Linked DNA regions of Homo sapiens: regions 1 and 2 are each linked to region 3. The links are contacts of gene promoters, found by promoter capture Hi-C in blood cells and fetal thymus (Javierre and others, 2016). All regions are on one chromosome and are shown on one strand. The core of a region is centred on a gene start or on the middle of the fragment in contact, and the rest is flanking DNA. Distances in the headings are between cores, read along the strand shown. Region 1 overlaps WT1-AS (WT1 antisense RNA). Region 2 overlaps DCDC1 (doublecortin domain containing 1). Region 3 holds the start of PAX6-AS1 (PAX6 antisense RNA 1).

The links. Contacts are between HindIII fragments. The CHiCAGO score rates a contact against its expected background, and 5 or more counts as called.
Region 1: a fragment that was not itself captured here is called in contact with the fragment with the promoter of PAX6-AS1 in region 3 in 1 of 17 cell types (fetal thymus); the score reaches 5.5 in fetal thymus.
Region 2: a fragment that was not itself captured here is called in contact with the fragment with the promoter of PAX6-AS1 in region 3 in 1 of 17 cell types (total CD8 T cells); the score reaches 5.2 in total CD8 T cells.

Annotation. Positions count from the first base shown.
Region 1 is chr11:32,435,797-32,438,496 of GRCh38, reverse strand. It overlaps WT1-AS (WT1 antisense RNA), which reads right to left. Exons shown (of 5, transcript NR_120548.1): 1 at 2,651-2,700. Among named protein-coding and RNA genes, the nearest start is that of WT1, 1.6 kb to the right of the region's middle. RefSeq lists enhancers at 1-484, 1,074-1,221, promoters at 1,523-1,859, 2,507-2,700, 1,959-2,700 and cis regulatory regions at 2,318-2,337, 2,430-2,556, 2,541-2,578. The HindIII fragment of the contact is 307 bases long and covers 1,221-1,527 here.
Region 2 is chr11:31,301,738-31,304,462 of GRCh38, reverse strand. All of the region lies in intron 6 of DCDC1 (doublecortin domain containing 1), which reads left to right. Among named protein-coding and RNA genes, the nearest start is that of DCDC1, 67 kb to the left of the region's middle. The HindIII fragment of the contact is 1,016 bases long and covers 773-1,788 here.
Region 3 is chr11:31,815,200-31,817,945 of GRCh38, reverse strand. It overlaps PAX6-AS1 (PAX6 antisense RNA 1), which reads right to left and starts at 1,380. Exons shown (of 3, transcript NR_033971.1): 1 at 1,307-1,380. It also overlaps a transcript of PAX6 not described here. RefSeq lists enhancers at 1-68, 1,590-2,351 and a promoter at 1-143. The HindIII fragment of the contact is 5,434 bases long and covers 1-2,746 here.

The DNA of each region.
Region 1 (2,700 bases), core at 125-2,624, 620 kb before region 3:
AGTTTCCTTCTCTGTAAAACGAGAAGTTTAATCTGCAGCTTTCTTTGCCAATCGGTGGTTCAGACCAGGAACCTCTGCTACAGATCTCGGCGCTGACAGGGGTAAGAAGGTGGGTGAAAGAAGGGGGCGCCCAGTTTTCCACAGCCTGCTTTTCTCTGGGACCTCGCGAAGGGCGGGCCTCGCGAGCTAAAGGAGGTACAGGAGAGCGCCTATCGTCCGCGGCGGGTGAAGGTGCTACCTGCCTTCGTGCTAGGCTGTGAGTCCTGGTGCTTAGCTCAGGGCGCCAAGGCCAGTGTAGCTGGCATGTCCCCCTTGGAAAACCTCAGGTCTCCCGCAGAGAACGTTACCCACAACAAAGAAGAGGACAGAGAGGCATGGAGCGCCCTGCGACTGCAGGAGTACGTCAGTTCCCCAGCGCTGGCTTAGTGTCGCCTGGGCTTCCGGGCATGTGGATCCGTTGGGGTCGTACGGAGACTTCCTGTCGGGTCCCTGGGGTCCTCCGACTGCGGCTCCTCAGCTTAGCACTTTCTTCTTGGCCCCGCAGGCTGCAGGGAACTCCTCCCACCTCTTTAGTCGGAGAAGTCCAAGTCGGGCGAGGGGGCACCCCGGGGTTCGCACCGGTGCTCTTCCCCTCCCCGCCCCCACAAGGATTCTGAGAAAATAAATGGCAGAGGAGAGAGGAGTTCTACATTTGCTTGGCTCTCCTTTCCTCCTATCCACCCCTACATCCCTCACCCCGGGGCAAAAACTTATTTTTGAAAAATGTTGGCAGAGATTTACGTGTCTTTGCCTTACCTGGGTTTCACAAACACAACGACTCACATTCAAGCCAGCCTCCCTTCAGATAACCTCCTCTCCCCCCGCTAAAAGTGCCAAGGATGGTAAAAGAAGAAACAATCTCAATCTTTTCGTTTGGAAATGAAAGTCCCCGGCTTTTCATAAAGGGCTCCTCGCCCCTCACAGTTGAGTCCTAGTTAAGAAAAACGACTTCCAAGTAGAAATAATAGGCGGGGAGAAGGAAGGGAGATACAGGGATCTGGGGGGTTCTTAGGGCAACTGGCAGTGAATTTTGTCTCGAGAGTCCTTTCTCCACTCAAAAAACCAAACGCGCGAGCCCCGCGAAAGGTTTAGGGATAGATCGTGTGGGAGAGGACTGAGCAGAGAGCGTGGGGGCAGTGTCTTGTAGAATCTTTCTTTTCTTAATAATAATTTTAAAAGCTTCTGAGTGGAGACGACGCAAAGTCAAGCAGCAAAGGTGGCCTGGGAGGCAAGCGGAGGGCTCAAGTGCCGCATCTTTACCCTCAGGGTCTCCTGCGCCTACGGGATGCGCATTCCCAAGAAGTGCGCCCTTCGAGTAAGTCCTGGGCCCGCACACACTTCGGGTCCGCAGCCAGAATTTAATGGCGACAACGTTTATGCAATGCAAGCTAAAAACCAAAGCGTAAAAAATTACTATGTCATTTATTGAAACGCCATTCTTTGTCAAACTGCAACTACTTTGCTTCACATAAGTTTGGCTGGAAAGCTTGCAGCCCCAGCCCGGGCCAGCCAGGTACAGGAGGCCGGACTGCAACCGGTTGCTTCCCTCCCGTCGCGCCTGGCCGTCCCACGCTGCGCCGTCGCTGCTGCCTCCTGGCGCCCCTGGGATTTTATACGCACCTCTGAAACACGCTCCGCTCCGGCCCCCGGTTCTTCTCCTTGCCTAGGGGTTGTTTCCCAATAGATACTGACTCCTTTAGAAGATCCAAAAACCAAACCAAAACACCCCCTACCCGCCCCAAACACCTGCTCTGGGGCGCGGGGGCTGCCAAACAGAGACTAGACGAAGGGAGTCAGATTTAGCGAAGCTCTTCGAGCTCCCAAAGATTCGAACACTAACTCGCGCCCGTGGGCCGATGGAGGTTCTCCCTACTCCACTCCTTGGTCCCCTTAACTGGCTTCCGCCTCCTGGTCAATCACTGAGCAACCAGAATGGTATCCTCGACCAGGGCCACAGGCAGTGCTCGGCGGAGTGGCTCCAGGAGTTACCCGCTCCCTGCCGGGCTTCGTATCCAAACCCTCCCCTTCACCCCTCCTCCCCAAACTGGGCGCCAGGATGCTCCGGCCGGAATATACGCAGGCTTTGGGCGTTTGCCCAAGGGTTTTCTTCCCTCCTAAACTAGCCGCTGTTTTCCCGGCTTAACCGTAGAAGAATTAGATATTCCTCACTGGAAAGGGAAACTAAGTGCTGCTGACTCCAATTTTAGGTAGGCGGCAACCGCCTTCCGCCTGGCGCAAACCTCACCAAGTAAACAACTACTAGCCGATCGAAATACGCCCGGCTTATAACTGGTGCAACTCCCGGCCACCCAACTGAGGGACGTTCGCTTTCAGTCCCGACCTCTGGAACCCACAAAGGGCCACCTCTTTCCCCAGTGACCCCAAGATCATGGCCACTCCCCTACCCGACAGTTCTAGAAGCAAGAGCCAGACTCAAGGGTGCAAAGCAAGGGTATACGCTTCTTTGAAGCTTGACTGAGTTCTTTCTGCGCTTTCCTGAAGTTCCCGCCCTCTTGGAGCCTACCTGCCCCTCCCTCCAAACCACTCTTTTAGATTAACAACCCCATCTCTACTCCCACCGCATTCGACCCTGCCCGGACTCACTGCTTACCTGAACGGACTCTCCAGTGAGACGAGGCTCCCACACTGGCGAAGGCCAAG
Region 2 (2,725 bases), core at 31-2,530, 510 kb after region 3:
TATATTTTTCACATTTTGCTTTAAGTTTAAAATATGGCTGGCTGCCTTAATTTTATATTCATTGAATCATTTGCTTATATAAAAACATGGGTCGTAGTGGGCAAATACTTTTCTGTGACTTTAAAAAATTCAGATATATTTGTAATGATTGCTTCATTAAGATCCTTGATTATTGTTATTAATAAGAAATGCTTGCCTTTCATATGAATAATGGTATTGTAGAAGAGACATATAAAAATTATTTATAGCTAAGCTAAGAAGAAAATCTCCTGGACATGTATGCCTGAAATAATAATGTCACACACATGACTGAGCTTGGTGGATGATTTTTAAATGTACTAACTAATTTCCTCCTACTTTTTGTTTTCTCTTTTATCCTTTTCAAAAGCCAAGTCCAGAACAAAAAACTTCTCTGCTTTGTCTGCGTATCTTTGGCTGTGTTTCACTGTGACATGCACTGCTGTTCTTTTAGCACCAAAATGTTGGCACACATTCCTGAAAATTTCACACCATCTCTTGCTGGATCAGCAAGCTTAACCCACCAAAATCTGGTGTTGTGCAATGGTTTTTGACTGATAATCAATCTTTATGCTGCTCGACAGTTGTTGCTGGGACACGGAGTAGAGCAGGTGGCAGATGTGCCTTGTCTTTTGAGAAAAGAAATTGTAGGTGAGCTTGGACACAGACTAGCATATCACATGTCCATTAAAAAGAGTTAGGATAAGTATAATGGGGAAAAGCCATTCATCTAAGTTGAGCTTATAGATAAGCTTAAACAATGATATTTGGTTTCTTTCAGAATGTTAAGAATATAAATGTAAACATATATACATTTATATATGAAAGATAATATTTAACTTGATGTGAGTGATATATTACATATCACTCACATATTCACATACACTTTTTCAAACCACCAAAATCAGCTTGAAGATTACCTTTCTGTCATCTGTTTTACAGATAAATCGATAATTTTCCAACTAGCCACAAGTGTACCATTAAAATAAAAACGTGTGAATAACTTTGAAAGTGGTAGATAAACTTAAAGAGACATGATCAGAAGTTGGATAATTGAACATGCTAAAGGTAAATAGGGGAAATCAATTGGCAGAATTAAGTGTTAATGATGTATCTTTCTAAATGAGCATAAGTATTTTATATACAATTGATAACTGGTCATTGTTTTAATTTACAGACTTTTATTCATTCAACAAACATTTATTGAGAGTCTATATATGCTAGATACTAGGCCAGGTCAGAGAAAGATAAAAGCTGTGGTTCATAGTCTGATTTCTTTTTTATCATTATTCTTTCATCTCTAATTTAAATTCAATTTAATGCAATTAAATCAAAATTTAAATCAACACATTTTTATTGAGTACCTACTATGTGTGCCCCAGCATAGGGATAGAAGTCCTGGCCTTTAAGGAACTTAAACTGAGTAGATAAGTTATGAATCCTTCAAACTGAGAATACTATTTTACAACATAAATCAAATGGATCTTATTTTATTTCTGGCATTGGAAGGCCAAACAAGCCAGTATATATTTTGGCAATTATATATCTATACTTCAGTGGTTTTCCTTATTCATTGGAAAAGCAGTGTAGATGGAGAAAATTGCCTAAGAACGATTTCCAGATTTACTAAGACAGAAAAAATCCTATAGAACATCTCTGATATTTTAACTATTTTACTACGCCTTTTGAGCATAACTGTTGACAACCAGTGGCATTGGATCTAATAGAAAGCCGGAGAGCTATTCATCACATACCTTGAAACACAAAGCTTTCATACGGAGGTCAGGCCAAGGTCAAGACTGACATGAAGCATTCCTTGTTGAAATGCAGTATTAGAATAATTCTTACATTTTAAAGTTGAATATTTAATCATAAATATTAATTGTGTATGGAAAAGATCAGGAAAATAGAAATATTTTATATAAATACTGTTGATAATGTTGCCTTATTAGGTATTATACTTCTGGCATTTAAAGTTTCTGACATTTATTAATAATTCATTGAAATTATGAATAGGTAGTTAATGAATTGTTTGAAAAGGCATATTAAGTTTTCTGATTCATGGCCATGTGGTTTAGGTTTTATTCACAGTTTCCTAAATCTTCTGCTTAATTGTGACACAGTGAAAATTCTTGGATCAGATCCATGGGGTTTATAAGAGTTCAGTTCCTTTATAACTGCTAGGAGCTGTATGTAAGTAATGCAAACATAGCATAATAAATGGTTCGTGCCCTGTGATTGCCTGAATATCTTAAATAAGATGAGGAGAAAACACTATTTAGACCTAATTCGTTAGGTCCAAGTTCTGTTGTATGGAGTTCTGATTGTCTTTAAAACTTTTTGGTTGAATATTTCTACTCTCTCCTGTATATCCTATTCTATTACTGGGCTTTCAGAATTATCATTTACAGTGATTCATTTCAGTCCTGAGTTTTGTTAACCAGAAGTGAAACTTGGTATTATGAATAAGATTTTAAATCTTTTAGATCCAATATTGTGAAGACGTAGTCACAGAAAAAAATGCATGAAAGGAGTTCTTGATACTACACCTAAGATCTAAATTTAAGCCTAGAGATTTTCTAGTAACTGCCATGTGATCTACAAAATGAAATAATTTGCTATGACAGCTTGTGATTGACAAGAATATGTGTGAGCACATTTAAAATAGGCCATCTTTTCATGTAGAAGTGTCAGTGAAATGATGGAT
Region 3 (2,746 bases), core at 131-2,630:
ATTGACATTTAAACTCTGGGGCAGGTCCTCGCGTAGAACGCGGCTGTCAGATCTGCCACTTCCCCTGCCGAGCGGCGGTGAGAAGTGTGGGAACCGGCGCTGCCAGGCTCACCTGCCTCCCCGCCCTCCGCTCCCAGGTAACCGCCCGGGCTCCGGCCCCGGCCCGGCTCGGGGCCCGCGGGGCCTCTCCGCTGCCAGCGACTGCTGTCCCCAAATCAAAGCCCGCCCCAAGTGGCCCCGGGGCTTGATTTTTGCTTTTAAAAGGAGGCATACAAAGATGGAAGCGAGTTACTGAGGGAGGGATAGGAAGGGGGGTGGAGGAGGGACTTGTCTTTGCCGAGTGTGCTCTTCTGCAAAAGTAGCAAAATGTTCCACTCCTAAGAGTGGACTTCCAGTCCGGCCCTGAGCTGGGAGTAGGGGGCGGGAGTCTGCTGCTGCTGTCTGCTAAAGCCACTCGCGACCGCGAAAAATGCAGGAGGTGGGGACGCACTTTGCATCCAGACCTCCTCTGCATCGCAGTTCACGACATCCACGCTTGGGAAAGTCCGTACCCGCGCCTGGAGCGCTTAAAGACACCCTGCCGCGGGTCGGGCGAGGTGCAGCAGAAGTTTCCCGCGGTTGCAAAGTGCAGATGGCTGGACCGCAACAAAGTCTAGAGATGGGGTTCGTTTCTCAGAAAGACGCGGAGTACGAAAGAATGCGGCCGACAGAGCTGGGCAGCGCGTAAAGCTCCCAGCGTGTGATTTGAGCTTCACTTCGGAAGACCTAATAATTAGCGATTCTCACTGAGCTAGAACGCGGGCTCCGGTTACTGCGGGCGCTGCGCTGGCTGCCTCGGCGGGAAGCGCGCGGGCGCCATGGGAGCCGGGCCGCCAAGCCCGGGAAAGAGAAGCGCCCACCACCCTGCGGCCCTTGGAGGGCCAGAGCCGGGGCCCGGAAGTGTCCCCTTAGTGAGTCAGGGAAGGGACGACCCAAACTTAGACTAACTTGTGGTTCAGCCGGGCGAAAGTCCTGGGAGCCCGGCCCTAAAAGCAGCTGGAGACGCCCAGGCCGGCTTAGGCGGGGCACCCAAGAACCCCGCCCGGGAGTTTGGGGCGGCCTCTGGGCCAGGCCCCGGCTAGCCCCCAACCCCCACTCCCACTCGCGCTCCTGCGCCCCCTTTCTAGGTCTTCTGGGAGCACCTTCGGAGCTCAGTCACCTGTGACAGGTGTTGGGACCTCCGCCCGACTCCGAGCGGTGGCGCCCCCTGCTCACCTCACCTGGAAACGGGGGACGAGCGCAGTGGCAGTCCGGCCGCACGCCTTACCTGGGCCGGGATCCTCTCCTCCGCGGGTTCCTCTCCCTGGAGCTGGGCGGCGAGCAGGTCGCCTGCTTCGCAGTGGGAAGTGGACCTTCTCCTCCAGTCATAAATCAAACCCAGCCATCCTCGGGCCTCCTCCCTCATTAGAGATGTTTATTGGAGATCGTGTTTATTCGGCTGTCACGGCGAGAAAACGCGGTGACATAATTACCTCTGACCAGAGTCCTCGCTCCGCGCCCAGGGCGAGCCGAGGACCTCCTCTGTCGCCTTCTCATGCCCGTGCCCTTCGTGATCGGAGGGCGCCCGTGATAGGCTTGTCTTTTTTTCCTCAGACCCTCTCATAGAATTTGGATGACTGGAATTACTATTCAGATTTCCCCAGGGCCCGGAGTTTATTTATTTATTTTAGAATTGGAAAGGAAAACCGAAGGGAACCCAACGCCCCTCCGGGGCAGAAGGGGGCAGCGCGCGCGAGGCGGAAGGACAGTCACTCTCGCTGCACAAACTTTCCCGCGGGCCGCGCCGCGCGTGCAGGGGCTGGACGCCACCCGGCGCCAGAGCCGGGCCTGAGGAGCGGGGTCTGGCCGGGAACGAGGGCTGCCAGCCTGGGTGGTGTCATTTGTTGCTTCATTTTTCATTCCCTTTCCTCTCGTGAGGAATCAGAGGCATCGGGCCGCGCGGGCTGAGAATTCTTAAATTCTCCCCGGCCGCATTCGGCTGAGCCAACCCGCAGTTCCTGTCAGCCCCTCTGTCCCCCGGGCAGCGGTTTTCCCCGCTAGCCAGGTTTGGAAGTCACCCTCTGTGAGACTGGGTTAGGAAGTGACGAAAAGCGCCGAATTGTTTTCAAATTGAAAATACTTTTTTTTTTTTTTTTGGAGATAGCGCTGACAAATATATGGGATCCCGGCTTTTGATCCCTGGCTGCCGCCTCTGTTCTCCTGTCGCTAATAAAACTCGCATTGAGCCCCTTAGTGCCTTGATTAACAGGCAGATTAACTCTTACTGGGGTTGGGAACAGCTTGTCCTAATCAATGTCATTTTAAAAGCCCGTCAGGATGCGCTTAGCTTCGGTTCCCTGGATGCTTGAGCGAGCCAGCCATGACATTTGCTCCCTCCCCCTCCCCAGCCTCAAATCCCCCAGTAAAGCCCCCAGTTCCCGCCTGCCTGTTCCCAGGTCTACAACGGGACAAATCGCAGGACCGGGTCGTTGGCCTTTAGAATAGGCAGCGGTTTAGAGAGGGGATATCCAGGGAGAAGGGACTGAGGTGGCCTTGACTTGCTTGCTTTTCCTTTGAAGCTGAACTCTTGCCTCTTGGGGGCAGAGGTTACAGGGAAAAGAGAGATGGGGGGATCGTCACAGGGTGATGAAATGGAAAGCAAACTTTTCTAGGAACCCTATTTGCAAAAATCGGAGAGTGCCGCTGATTTCAGTTGTCCTACATGTCA